Linked DNA regions of Homo sapiens: region 1 is linked to region 2. Evidence: promoter capture Hi-C in 16 types of primary human blood cells and fetal thymus (Javierre and others, 2016). All regions are on one chromosome and are shown on one strand. The core of a region is centred on a gene start or on the middle of the fragment in contact, and the rest is flanking DNA. Distances in the headings are between cores, read along the strand shown. Region 1 has its middle 7.0 kb from the start of BEST1. Region 2 holds the start of FADS3 (fatty acid desaturase 3).

Region 1 (6,916 bases), core at 4,325-6,824, 50 kb before region 2:
TGGGGTTGAAGGGAGGTCCAAAGGATGGGGCCTGCATGAAAGATACTTTTTTTTTTTTTTTGAGACGGAGTCTCGCTTTGTTACCCAGGCTGGAGTGCAGTGGCATGATCTTGGCTCACTGCAACATCTGCCTCCTGGGTTCAAGTGATTTCCGGCTAAGTATTGTATTTTTAGTAGAGATGGGGTTTCACCATGTTGGCCAGGTTGGTCTTGAACTCCTGACCTCAAGTAATTCACCCGCCTCGGCCTCCCAAAGTGCTAGGATTGCAGGCATGAGCCACTGTGCCTGGCCGCATGGAAGAAACTTTGACTGCAGCAGATTCCAAGCTCTCGAGCTCCCCAGCAGAGAGCCATCTCTTGGGGCAGCAGGGCAGAGCTGGGGAGATGCGCGGGGGTGCCAGACACAGAATGCTATGGCCTTCTCATCTAGAATTACCATAGCAACAGGAGCATCACAGAGGGCCTGCCTCGGTGCCCTTCTAGGCCCTGCCTCAGCTGGGCAGGAAGAAGGAGACCCAGCTTGGCTGGGGGCAGTAGGCAGGGGGCCCCGGGGTAAGTCAGCCAGGCCTGGATGCTGCCTCCAGGCTTTATGTGGGACACCTGCCAGCCCACACCCCTCTCTTGGGCCAGTCACAGAACAAATAGGGCAGAGGCCAAGAAAGAAAAGGAGGGGGCTTGGCATAGCTGGACAGGGGTGCTGGGGGACACTGCCAGTCCAGGGCCCGGAAGCCAGACAGACAACAGCACCTCCACCCTGAGCTCAGGCAGCCCTGATCCCTGAAGGACGGAGTAAACTCAACATTCAAAGAGATAGAAACATAAGCCCTGGGCACCACAGAAAGACGACAGAAACCAGGAGAGGCTGGGATACACCTAGGTCCAACTTCATCAAACCCAGTCCTGCCCATGACAACGGAATAGCATGGAATAGACCAGAGCTGGACCAACTAGAGACACAAGGCAAGAGGATCCACTGTGCTGCGAGGTCCCCCATGGACTCTGCCAGGCTGCAGTCGGCCAGGTGAGGCACTGACCACTATCCACCTTCCACCCACCCCCACCCCTCCAGCTCAGAACTGGGGCTCGTGGCAGGTGGGTAGCGGAAAGGACATCATGGGTCAGGCTTCTCCTAGACAACTGTGCAGGGCCTGGATGCTGTCAAAGGTTCACACCCAGTGAGTAGCCTCAGTGTCTTCAGCTCAAATGGGCATGTTGAGTTTGACGTGCTGTGAAAGAATGGTAAGTTTCTAGTCCAGCTGCTCATTTTGCAGACAAAGAAACTGAGGCACAGAGAAGGAAAATGACTTGCCTGAAGTCACAGTAGGCCGCCTGTCTAGGTGAGTGCAGCAACTCCCCGCTGCCCCAGGATGCTCCTGCGGTTCGCTTCCACGGCGAGCACTGAATGCCGACCGACCGTGTTTAGCGCTGCGGTGGCCACTGTGAGAGGGAAAGAATAGTAGAAACAATCAGTTCTCCCCATCTTGACCACTTACCAGGTGTCAGGCAGTGCACTAAGCGCTCTTTAGAAATGTCATCTACTCATCAAAACAACCCCTGGGGAAGAGGAAGGGTCATCCATCTGTCAGGTGGATGGATGTTGGAGAGGACGGCACAAGGGTAGGCTAGATGAGGAGTAAGCCACATTGGCCCCTATCTGTCAGGTCAATGGGCTGACGGCAGGCTGCCTTAGCTGCCTTTCCCTGCCTCAGATGCAGACTGGCTGGGCTTCCACAGCTACAGCCTTCTCCACCCATGCTAGGGCTACCAGACTTAGCCAATAAAACTACAGGCCAGGCCAGGTGTGGTGGCTCCTACCTGTAATCCCAGCACTTTGGGAGGCTGAGGCGGGTGAATCACGGGAGGTCAGGAATTCAAGACCAGCCTGGCCAACATGGCAAAATCCCGTCTCTACTAAAAATACAAAGATAAGTAGCCAGGCATGGTGGCGCATGCCTGTAATCCCAGCTACTCGGGGAGGCTGAGGCAGGAGAATCACTTGAACCCGGGAGACAGAGGTTGCAGTGAGCCAAGATTGCACCATTGTACTCCAGCCTGGTTGACAAGAGCGAAACTCCGTGTCCAAAACAAAAACAAACATTAGATGACATCCTGGCAAAACAACTACAGGACAGTCAGGCAAATAAGAACTTCAGATAGAAAAGTGAATAATTTTTAGTGTAAATATGTCCCGGGGGAGGGGCCCGGGAGCATCGTCCTTTTTTCTGTGGTCCCTCTGCTTTGCTGATTTGCTTAATTGGTCCATTCCTTCCTGCTGCTGACTTCTAGAACCTGGCTTCTCAAACTGAGGTCTGGGGCCCAGTTACATCATTTGGAAGCTTGTTACCAATGCAGAATCTGCCCTGGTGCAGTGGCTCACACATACAATCCCTACATTTTGGGAGGCTGAGGTCGGATGATTGCTTGAGCCCAGGAGTTTGAGGCTGCAGTGAGCTATGATCACACCAGCTCAGAACTGCAGTCCAGACTAGGTGACAGAGCAAGACCCTGTCTCAACAAAGGAGGGAAGGAAGGAAGGAAGGAAGGAAGGAAGGAAGGAAGGAAGGAAGGAAGGAGGGAAGGAAGGGAAGGAAAGGAAGGAAGGGAAGGAAGGGAAGGAGGTAGGGAGGACTCCATTCTGTAGGTCGTCTTTTTTACTTTGTTGAGGAGGTTCCTTGATGCACAAAAGTTTTTAATTTATTTTGAAGGAGGGAGGAAGGGAGGGGAGGGGAGGAAGATTCATGTATGCCTGCTTTATACAACTATAAGAGAGATTTAAGACTATTGCTTACAATTCAAAAGGACTAAATGCTTGTTATAAACAATTAGGAAACTACAGAGCAGTTTAAAACAAAACAAAACAAACTCCCAAACAAGGTTATCATTTTGATGTATTTCCTTCCAGTCTTTTTTTTATAATTTTAATATTGAGGGGCAATCCGTGTCCTGTAAAATTCACCTTTTCCACTTATGTATGTAGTGTTTACATATTTACTGATGCTAAAGCCATCCTAGTAGGTGTGCAGTAGTATCTCATTGTGGTTTTGATTCTCATTTCCCAGATGGCAAACGATGTTAAGTATCTTCTCATGTGCTTATTGGCTGTTTGTTTATCCTCATTGGAGAAATGTCTATCCAAGTCTTTTGCCCATTTTTTCAGTTGGATTGTTTGCCTTCTTGTTGTTGTTAGAATTATTTATATATTCTGGATACTAGACCATTATCAAGCACGTGATTTACAAATATTTTCTCCCATTCTGTAGATCATCTTTTTTACTTTCTTGAGGAGGTTCCTTGATGCATGAAAGTTTTTAATTCATTTTGAATTTTAAACATTAAAATTTTAATTTAGATAAATTTTGACACTGTCAAATCCAAGGTCATGAAGATTTACCCGTACGTTTTCTTCTAAAACTTCTATCGCTTTAGTTCTTACATTTAGGAATTTGACCTATTTTGAGTTAATTTTTATGTATCATTTGAGGTAAAGGTCCAACTTTCTTCTTTTGCATGTAGCTATCCAGGTGTCCATGTATATTTGTTGAAAAGCATATTCTTTCCTATTGACTTGTCTTGGCATACATGTTGAAAATCAATTGATAATACATATATGGGTTTATTTCTGGACTATCAATTCTATTGAGCTATATGTCACTTCAATATTTCATTGTTTTAATTATGTAGCTACGTAGAAATTTCGAAACCAGGAGTGTAAGTTCTCCAACTTTGTTCTTTTTCAAGATGGTTTTAGCTATTTGGGGTCCATTGCAATTCCATGTGAATTTTAGGATCGCCTTGCCCATTTCTGCAAAAAACGCAGTTGGAATTTTGATGGGGATTACACTGAGTCTGTAGATCACTTAGTCATCTTTACAACATCAAGTCTTCCAATCCATGAACATAGGATGTCTTTTCATTTATTTAGGTATTCTTTAGTTTCATTCACCACTGTCGTAGGGTTTTCAGTGTACAAGTCTTGCATCTTCTTGGTTAAAAATATTCCGAAGTCTCTTATTCTTTTTAATAAGAATAAAGTTCCATTTTGTAAATGGCATTATTTTCTTAATTTTATTTTCAGATTGTTTATTGCTAATGTATGGAAATACAGCTGATTTTTGTATATTAATCTTGTATCCTGTAACTTTGCTGAATTTATTTACTAGCTGTAATAGTTTTTGTGTGGATTCTTTAGGGTTTACTACATATAAGATCATGTCATAATTTGCCAGGTGCAGTGGTTCATGCATGTCATCCCAGCATTTGGGGAGACCAAGGAGGGAGAATTGTTTGAGCTCAGGTGTTTTTTGTTTGTTTGTTTGTTTGTTTTTTAATTTATTTTTTTATTGATAATTCTTGGGTGTTTCTCACAGAGGGGGATTTGGCAGGGTCATGGGACAATAGTGGAGGGAAGGTCAGCAGATAAACAAGTGAACAAAGGTCTCTGGTTTTCCTAGGCAGAGGACCCTGCGGCCTTCCACAGTGTTTGTGTCCCTGATTACTTGAGATTAGGGAGTGGTGATGACTCTTAACGATCATGCTGCCTTCAAGCATCTGTTTAACAAAGCACATCTTGTTTGTTTGTTTTGAGACGGAGTTTTGCTCTTGTTGCCTAGGCTGGAGTGCAGTGGTGCGATCATGGCTCACTGCAACCTCCATCTTCTGGTTTCAAGCGATTCTCCTGCCTCAGCCTCCCAAGTAGTTGGGATTACAGGAGCACGCCACCATGTCTGGCTAATTTTTGTATTTTTAGTAGAGGTGGGGTTTCACCATGCTGGCCAGGCTGGTCTCAAATTTCTGACCTCAAGTGATCTGCCCGCCTAGGCCTCACAACGTGCTAAGATTATAGGCATGAGCCACCATGCCTGGCCTTTACACTGATTTTCATATGTTCAACTACCTTGCTTGCATTCCCATGATAAATCCCACATGGACACGATGTATAATCTTTTTAACATGTTGCTGGATTGGATTTGCTAGTATTTGGTTGAGGATATTTGCATCTATATTCATAAGGGATATTGGTCCGTATATTCCTTCTTTTTTTTGAGACAGAGTCTTGCTCTGCTGCCCAGGCTGGAGTGCAGTGGTGCGATCTGGGCTCACTGCAAGCTCCGCCTCCTGGGTTCACGCCATTCTCCTGCCTCAGCTTCCCGAGTAGCTGGGACTACAGGTGCCTGCCACCACACCTGGCTAATTTTTTGTATTTTTAGTAGAGATGGGGTTTCACCACATTAGCCAGGATGGTCTCGATCTCCTGACCTCGTGATACACCTGCCTCAGCCTCCCAAATTGCTGGGATTACAGGCGTGAGCCACCACGCCCAGCCTGGTCTTTATATTTCTTTCCTTGTGAGATATTGTCTGGCTTTAGTTTTAGGATAATACTGGCACAAGAGAATGGGTTATGAAGTATATTCTTCTCTATTTTTTGGAACAGTTTGTGGATTGGCATTTATTCTTTATTTGCTCCTAATCGTTTCTCTATTGGAAGTTTTTTGATTACTGATTCAATCTTGTGTTTGAGGTCTATTCAAGTTTTCTGTTTCTTCTTGAGGAAGTTTTGGTTTCTAGGCATTTGTTCATTTAATCTAGGTTATCTAGTTTGTTGTCATACAATTTTTCATAGTGTTCTATAATTCTTTCTGTATCTGTAAGGTTGGTAGTAGTTTTTCTTTTTAAAATGTTTTATTTATTTTATTATTTATTTATAGAAACAGAATCTCACTTTATCACCCAGGCTGGAGTGCAGCTGTGTGATCATAGCTCACTGCTACCTTGAATTCCTAGGCTCAAGGGAGCCTCCTGCCTCAGCCTCCCAAGCAGCTGGGATTACAAGCACGTGCCACAGTGCCTGGCTAATTTTTACATTTTTTTTTTTGAGATGGAGTCTTGCTCTGTTGCCCAGGCTGGAGTGCAGTGGTGCATTCTCGGCTCACTGCAACCTCCACCTCCCGGGTTCAAGTCATTTTCCCACCTCAGCCTCCTGAGTAGCTGGGACTATAGGCAAGTGCCACCATGCCCCGCTAATTTTTGTATTTTTAGTAGAGACAAGGATTCACCATGTTGCCCAGGCTGGTCTCAAACCCCTGACAAGTGATCCGCCCACCTCGTCTTCCCGAAGTGCTGGGATTACAGGCGTGAGCCACCGCGCCCAGCCTAACTTTTAAACTTTTTGTAGAGATAGGGTCTCACCATCTTGCCCAGGCTGGTCTCGAACTCTTGGGCTCAAGGAATCCTCTCGCCTTGGCCTCCCAAAATGCCAGGATTACAGGCATAACCACTATGCCTGGCCACATTTTTATTTTTAATTTTTATTCATTCATTTATGTATTTACTTTTTTTTTTCTTTTTTTTTGAGACGGAGTTTCACCCTTGGTTGCCCAGGCTGGAATGCAATGGCATGATCTCGGCTCACCGCAACCTCCACCTCCCAGGTTCAAGTGATTCTCCTGCCTCAGCCTCCCGGGTAGCTGGGTTTACAGGCATGCGCCACTATGCCTGGCTAATTTTGTATTTTTAGTGGAGACAGGGTTTCTCCATGTTGGTCAGGCTGGTCTCGAACTCCCGACCTCAGGTGATCTGCCAGCCTCGGCCTCCCAAAGTGCTGGGATTACAGGCGTGAGCTACTGCACCCAGCCTATGTATTTACTTTAGAGACAGCATCTTGCTCTATCACCCAGGATGGAGAGAAGTGGTACGATCATAGCTCACTGCAGCTTTGAACTCCTGGGCTCAAGGCAATCCTCCTGCCTCAACCTCCCCAGTAGCTAGGACTACAGGCACGAGACACCATGTCCAGCTAGTAGTAATTTTTCTACTTTCGTTCCTTTTTTTTTTTTTGAGACAGAGTCTCACCCTGTTGCCCAGGCTGGAGTGCAGTGGCAAGATCATAGTTCACTGCAGCCTCAATCTCCTGGGCT
Region 2 (7,833 bases), core at 170-2,669:
CTGGTACCAGGGAGAACTCGCCCCCTCTGCCCTTCTGGGGATACTGGTCCTCTTTAGACCAAGACAAAATATTAGCATATCAGAGAAATATACTTAGGGTTTTCTAAGTGCATTTCCCCAACCAGCCGGTCAGCATCACCTGTGAACTGGCCATGTAAGTCTCTGCCTCCACACCAGACCCACCGAATAACCCTCCTGGGTGGTTCTGATGGAAGCCTTTCAGGTGGTTCTGATGGAAGATTGACGACCAGCGCTCTGGAAGTAACTTTAGCCTGATTTGAATTCCTTGCTGCTGTGAACGCTTAACTTTTAGGAACAGGTATATTTATCACAAAGAAATCCGAAGCAATTAGGGGAGCTACCTACACTTTCAAAAGGACTTGAATGTATTTAAATTAAAAAAAGCGGATGGGGCCCGGGTGCAGTGGCTCATGCCTGTAATCCCAGCATTTTGGGAGGCGGGAGGGTCACTTGAGTCCAGGAGTTCAAGACCAGCCTGGGCAACATGGCAAGACCCATTTCTACAAAAATAAAATAACACCAAAAATTAGCCGGGTATGATGGGGCGCGCCTGTAGTCCCAGCTGGGGACTCCCGAGACTGAGGTGGGGGTATCTCCTGAGCTTAGGATGTTGAGGCTGCAGTGAGCCGACATCATGCCACTACACTGCAGCCTGGGCGACAGAGTGAGACTCCTGTCTCAAAACAAAAAAGAGGGGCGGGGAAGCAGTAACAAGCACAGGTGTCCTCAGCCCATGGATGGCAGCGCCCGCCTCCACGCGCCAGTGCCCTCCTGCTCCCCTACCTCCCCCTTGGCCACCCCTGGGCATCCCCAGCCCTGCAGCGCCGAGGGCGGAGGGGAGGCCACCCGCCCCCAGCAGAGGGCTCCGAGAGAGCTGCAGCGGCGGTGGGGGCCCCGCAGAGATTGGGGCCCATGGTTTGAAGGCTGTTCACAGGCACCCCGAGACAGCGTCCCCCCTCTGGGCGCACTGGATTTGACGTTGCAGGACGCGCGGCTGGAAGCCCCCCAGGCCCCGCTGCTCACAGACCGGGACTCCGCCTCCGGTTCCCGAGGGCGTGGCGAGGCGCTGCGGGACGCCCAACAGGTGCGTGTTGTGTCCCCAGGCCCCGCGCTCCGGGTGGAGTCAAGAACCTGGAAGCCGGCAGCCCGGGAAAAGGGGGCGGGACGGTGCCCCGGGGCAGGGCTGGGTGGCGGCCGCTGTCCTCCCGGGAGGGGCGGGCCGCCTCGACGCCGCCCTCCCTGGCGGCCAATGGAGACCGAGGCCCCGCGCCTGGATTGGAGCGGACGCGGGGGGTCAGCCAGCCTTGGGGGCCGGGGCCTGGCCGGGGGCGGGGGGGCAGGCGAGGCGAGGCGGGCGCCGTCCGCGCGGTTATAAGGCGGGGAGTTCCCTGCGCCGCGAGCCGGGAGGCGCACGCTCGCTCGTACGGCGGCCGCGGCGGCAGGGCGGGGCCGGAGCAGCGGGCGGCGGCGGAGGCGGCGCCCGGGAGCGCTCTTCGCTTCCCTCGGGGTCTTGCTCGGACCTCGGCCACCGCCTGGGATCCCCAGGACTCGTGCGTGCAGCATGGGCGGCGTCGGGGAGCCGGGACCGCGGGAGGGACCCGCGCAGCCGGGGGCGCCGCTGCCCACCTTCTGCTGGGAGCAGATCCGCGCGCACGACCAGCCCGGCGACAAGTGGCTGGTCATCGAGCGCCGCGTCTACGACATCAGCCGCTGGGCACAGCGGCACCCAGGGGGCAGCCGCCTCATCGGCCACCACGGCGCTGAGGACGCCACGGTAAGGAAGCCATAAGGAAGCCACCCACCGGCGGGTGGAGCCTGGAGCTCGGTCGTGGGCGTGATGTCCCGCTCCACCTGTGGGGCCTTAGCATCCTCCCTCCCCTCGCTGACCTTTGACCTCCACGCCGGGACCCAGAGTTGGGGTGGACTAGCCAGGGCCAGATGTGGGGTAGGGAGGGCAGTTCCCTGCGTGGAGGACCCGCAGCTGTCCACGGAGCAGGTCTGCGGGGGAGGAGGGGGCCTCAGAGGTGGGTGTGTCATGCTGCAGAGCCTGCCCTGGGTGAGGGGCTGCCCTGTTGCTCCCAGGTCCCTGTTTCAGTTCTGGGTCCCCATGCTGGGTGCTTGCTGAGTGCTAGGGGTAGGGCAGGGCAGGGTCCCCAGGGGCCGGTAAGGACATGCCATTAGAGGCTGGGGGCTGGGCCGGCCTGAGGTCTGTGGCTTTCCCAAGAGCTTCTGTAAAGGGCTCAGGGACAGTGACTCACCTCTCCGGGCTAGCAGCTGCACGTGGGAGGGCTTTGCCAGCCAGGCTGGGTGGGCCTCTCCTGGAAGCACAGTCACCCCAGGAACAGGCTGGCCCCTGGGGACCCCAACTTCCCAATCCCAGCCCCTGTCTAGACAGGCAGGGATGTAGCCTGGCCCCAGGGTACTGTCTGGCTGGAGTCCAGTGGTGGAGCAGCCCGACCAGCCCCTTTTCCTTAGTTACCCACCTGCATAATAGGGGTTGGGGCCACGATGCCCTGTCCTTGACCCTCCAAATTTCTAGGTTGGCCACACTGGGTATCAGGAAGGTCTTCAAGACCCGAGGACATGAATCCTGAATGCTGGCTTTTTGGGCAGCAGCGGAGGTTCTGTCCAGTCCCAGGACTGTCGGCGTCCCTCTTGACAGGGCCACCTGCTCTCTGCCGATTGCCATCTCCAGCATGTTGGACAATCTTCACTGGACTCTTTGAGGAAGAAAGCCCCTCTTTTCCCCTTCCACCCCATGAAGCTGAGGAGTGAGAATAAGAATCCTCCTGAAATTCTAAAAAAAGAAAAAAAAAAAAAAGAGAACGCCTTGTCCGTGGCTGTTCAGGCGCCAGACGCTGGCCCGAGGGGACAGCACAGCCGTGGGATGAAGCAGCCTGGGGGCAGTATTTGAGCGTGCAGGTGTTTGCATGTCTGGGTGAGTGTGGTGTGTGTGCCTGCCTTTCTGCCAGGGCGTGGCGAGGTGAGGGGCACGGCTTCTCCCCAAAGGCCTTGCTGAGCCCTGGCCTCCCTTCAAGGAGTCTTGTGGATGCCTGCTCTGGTCTTTTTCTAAAAAAGTATCTATTTTATTTATTATTATTTGTTTAAAAATAGAGACAGGGTCTCACTATGTTGCTCGGGCTGGTCTCAAAGTCCTGGGTTCAAGCATTCCTCCTGCCTCAGCCTCCGAAAGTTCTGGGATTACAGGCATGAGCCACCACTCCCGGCCTGCTCTAGTCTTTTGTAACCTAGAGGACAGTATGGATACAGAAAACTTTACTCCCCACCAACCGCCGGAGACAGAGTCTTGCTCTGCCACCCAGACTGGAGTGCAATGGCGCCATCTTGGCTCACTGCAACCTCCGCCTCCCAGGTTCAAGCGATTCTCCTGCCTCAGCCTCCCGAGTAGCTGGGATTACGGGCACGCGCCACCACGCCCAGCATATTGTATTTTTAGTAGAGACGGGGTTTCACCATGTTGGCCAAGCTGGTCTCGAACTCCTGACCTCGTGATCCACCCACCTCGGCCTCCCAAAGCGCTGGGATTACAGGCGTGAGCCACCACGCCCGGCTGGGATACAGAAAGCTTTTATTTCATCACTGTTTCCTGCCTGGTGCCAGGCCCATGCTGGGGTTCCTCCCAAGTGGAATTACTGACTTAACATTTAGCTTGGGATCCTGAGACTTCCATCACACAGTTTTCTCATTGATTCGCAGCCAATAATATCTGTTTTAAAAACATCTCAGGCCGAGCGCTGTGGCTCACACCTGTAATCCCAGCACTTTGGGAGGCTGAGGTGGGCAGATCACCTGAGGTCGGGAGTTTGAGACCAGCCTGACCAACATGGAGAAACCCTGTCTCTTCTAAAAAAATACAAAATTAGCCAGGCGTGGTGGCGCATGCCTGTAATCCCAGCACTTTGGGAGGCTGAGGCAGGAGAATCGCTTGAACCCAGGAGACGGAGGTTCCGGTGAGCCGAGATCGCGCCATTGCACTCCAGCCTGGGCAACAAGAGCAAAACTCCGTCTCAAACAAACAAACAAAAAACATCTCTCTGCTCCTTGGGGCCGGGTGCCAGCTCTGCTATTGGAGGCACTGAGCGACCTTGAAGCAGGCATGTCACTCCTCTGTGCCCCAGTTTACTCATCTGTAAAGTGGGAGAGCTGGGGCAGACAGTGAGCTGGCTGAGGGCAGGACTGTGTCTCCTCAAGCCCATGGCCCAGGGCTGCCAGGTAGTAGTTTGTATTCGGTAAATGCTGCTGGCCCCTAAGTGTGAGCGTGCCCTGCAAACTGCAGCGTATGGTGGGACAGCCCTGCACGGCTACCCCTTTCCTGGGTGACCTTATTTGGTTACGGTCCTATCTGAAGTAGGAAAGGGACACTTTAGGCTGTCTCTTAGCTCCCTCAAGGCCCCACAGCCTGGACTAGAGTTGCCAGAAATACTTGGTCCATTCAGGCCAAAGGGACTGTGAGGTTGCTGGGATGGTGCAATCAGTCTTTGTCCATGATGAACCCACAGGGTAGACCAGGGGTTGGGCCAGCCCAGTGCCCTGTGTAGTTGAGCCCAGGCCCCAGGCATCCCATCCCGGGCGGTGGCCTCAGGTGGAGGTGGGGCAGCCAGTTGCCAGGGATGTGTTCCAGCGGTCACCTCTCACCAGCCCCGGCTGCCCATCAGCTGTTCTCAAGTCCAGGCAATGAAGCCTTCCTGCCAGGAAATTCCCAGAGTTTCTGTGCCATGAAGTCAGCCTGTGGCCATCTTGGGACACAAGGCCGGGTGCCCTGGGGAGAGTACTCTGGGCCCTTGGCCAGGTTTGTCTGAGAGTCATAGGCAGCCTGATACTAGTGGAGCCAGCCAGGGAGGGATGAGGCCCAGCCGCTGCTGGCCATAAGTATATAAGGGCCATGTGCTGAGTGCCTACTATGTGCCAGGTTTTGAAATCAGTACTTGATTTATTGAAACCCTCTCTTTTAATCCTCAAGGTGCCCCTATGAGGCACGTACCATTTATTGTTATTGCCACTTGACAGATGAGAAAACAGAGGCTCAGAGAGGCAAAGTGGCTTGAAATTCAGTGATTGGTCTGGGATTTGAATCCACAGCCATGTTCTTAAGGGCATGCTATGCTGCCACCTATCCTGTTTATTTCCGGCACTCATTGATTCTTCAATGTTTGACTCATTAAATCCATCAGTGAGCATCTTCTCTGTGTCATGCATGGTTCTCACCTCTGAAGATGTAGCTGTGAGCAAAACTTCTACAGGGAATGAGTTCACAGCAGAGGGATCAGCTAGAGCAAAGGCTCAGAGGTGGGACCGTGCGTCCTGTGTTCCAGGAATACAGTATGGCTGCAGCAGAGAGCAGTGGAGAGAGGGCCTGGCAGTGAGGTCTAGAGGCGGCCGGGCTGGCTCATGCTGGATGTTTGTGTCCTCGGAAGGACTTTGGCTTTATTTTAAAGAGGATGGGGAGCCCCAGAGAGCACAGCAGGGAAGCCTGGGGAGTCTGATGGACATTTAAAAGGATCCTTAATGGAGAGAGTGAAGGCAGAGCCTTCCAGAAGGGTAAGAGAAGGGAGGATGGAGACCTGCCCTCCCCCAAGGGAGGCCACTCAGAAGAGGTAGAGTGTGGCCAGGGCAGAGAGCAAGAGAGGCTGTGGACACAGGCACACTGGTCCAGTGAGAGCCATTAGACACATTAGATTTAGCTTCATGTTGTCTTTAGAGAGGGAGCCAGCCTGGCCTCGCTCTATGATCTTGGACACATCCTTTCACTTCTGGGTCTCAGTTTCCCCATTAGTGTGATGAGGATGAGAATGCTTTTGTCCTGGGCACACTATGAGGGTGGTGCTGGGCACCTGGGTGCCTGGTTACCATGGGCAACAAAGCTCTATTCATGGGTGTGGTGAATGCATTGCCCACAGCAACTCAGGGCGGATGAGGAGTTTCCCAGCAGCCCCTGGTGCCCTTTCGGCTGAAGCCCTAACAACTGTGGGAAAATCCAAGTTCCAGCAGACCCCCTGAGCCCTCTGCCTTAGGACCCTCCTTCTAGGTGGTTCTCTGAGCCTGGCCTGAGCTGGAGGAGGGAGTGGCCAGTGCTGCAGCAGAGGCTGCTTCATAGTAATTGCAGCCAACAGTTATTGACTAGGCACTGTTCTGAGGGGTTTAGATGTGGTAACTGATTGAATTCGCCTAACAACTTTATGAGGTAAGTCCTATTGTTAGCCCATTTTGTAGATGAGGAGACTGAGTTTGAAACTGGGGGGTGTAATGGAACCTTCTCAGGACCCTTGAAGGGTAGGGCCTTTGTACTCGGGCCACGAGGGTGGGGTTTGTGTCTGGGTGGGAGCTGGGGAGGGACAGGACTAGGATTAGGCAGATCTGAGGCCACAGGAGTTGGTTGGGGGGTGGCTCCAGAGCCACTCCACTCCCTCCTACCACATTGACTGCCTTGAAAGTCCCCTAATGGCCACTCCCATGAAGTGTGACTGCTCTGGGCTCCCCGCAGGCGTTTTCTGCAAGGCCACCGCCCACCCAGGCCCCTTCCCCAGAGGGGCTGCAGTGCCTTGCTCCTTCCTTGTGGGAAGAGTTGGGATTGTCTGGCGTCAGCAGGATACTGCCCCTGGGCATCCCTCCCGGTCTCTTCCTGCGGGTTTCTGATGAAACAGCCAGGCTCCAGTAGTGGAGCCAGAGGTCAGTGGTGGAGAGAGGACCAGGAGCCAGAGGGTATAGCTGCTTTGGGGCTACTGTGGGGTCAGGGACACTTGTGAGGCCAAGCGTCCTGGCTGCAGGAGCCCTCACATATATGCCCACCCTTCACCAGGACATTGAGGGGTGCTGGGGGACAGGGGTAGCTTTTTGGGGGTGTCTGCCTTCGACTTGGGCTCCGCTACACAGGCCAAATTTGGATGTCCCATGTTTAGAGCTGTGTTTCTTTGGGACCTCTTGGGGCCTCAGTTTCCTCATCTGTAAAATGGGATACTGATAGTGCTTCCCCACTGGCCTCCTCTGACGGGCGCCAGGGAGAGGATGGGACGGAGCATGGTGTGCTGGGCACGCTCCTGCTGTACCCACCCACCTGGGAGAGGGGAGAGGCAGGAATGTCCTGGGGGTGTCCTTTGAGGCATAGCCCTGTCACCCCAACATCCTACAAAGGCATGAGAAGGCAGCGAGGACAGACCCCGACCACCTGAGCCCTCAGCAGCCCTGCCACACTCCCTGCTTCACCCCCTTCCTGACTGATCTGGCACATTCTTGATTCTCCTAGGGAGTGACCCAAAATCCCTCCCTGCCCTGCTGTGTCTCTGGGGTGGAAGGAGGCTGCCAGCCCCTCCTCTCTCCCAGCCTCAGGCTTGGCCAGGACTTAACAGGCAGGCAGAGAAGCAGCTTCTCCACTCTCTTCCCTGACACCTGTAGGCCCCTCCTGCAGGCACTTACCTCTAAGTGGACTCTCAGGAGGAGGCTCATCAGGGCTGCAGGGCTCAGAAAGAGCTGGGCTGTGGAGCTCTTGCCAACCGCCAGGCCCCTTCTAAGTGCTTTAGCGCCACCGACTGCATCCTCCCAGCAGCCTTGTGAGATGGGGATTTGTGGTTCCCAGTTTACTGATGAGAAATACTGATGAGAGATGGGTGTGGTCTTGTCTGGGGCTCCCTGGCTCCTGGATAGCAGCTCAGGTTCCATCCTGGGCAGGCTGGCTCTGGGACACCCCCCCGACCAGCTGCTGTGTGGGATTCACGGTGGGGCTTGGGCAGGGCGTGGGATCTTGGGGCCAACTGAGCCACTCTAGGCTTCCAGGGACCAAGGCCAGGCTGAGCTGTC

Evidence for each region. Contacts are between HindIII fragments. The CHiCAGO score rates a contact against its expected background, and 5 or more counts as called.
Region 1: a contact is called between a fragment that was not itself captured here and the fragment with the promoter of FADS3 in region 2, in 4 of 17 cell types (erythroblasts, M0 macrophages, neutrophils and 1 more). The highest score is 8.9, in erythroblasts.

What each region holds. Positions count from the first base shown.
Region 1 is chr11:61,939,878-61,946,793 of GRCh38, reverse strand. It overlaps a transcript of RAB3IL1 not described here. Among named protein-coding and RNA genes, the nearest start is that of BEST1, 7.0 kb to the left of the region's middle. RefSeq lists a silencer at 582-745 and enhancers at 2,616-3,117, 4,287-4,941. The HindIII fragment of the contact is 6,471 bases long and covers 2,339-6,916 here.
Region 2 is chr11:61,885,131-61,892,963 of GRCh38, reverse strand. FADS3 (fatty acid desaturase 3) reads left to right here and starts at 1,419. Exons shown (of 12, transcript NM_021727.5): 1 at 1,419-1,795. The coding sequence starts at 1,583. RefSeq lists silencers at 711-1,520, 1,621-1,750 and enhancers at 1,951-2,120, 1,710-2,398, 2,399-3,088, 4,690-5,191. The HindIII fragment of the contact is 11,072 bases long and covers 1-3,609 here.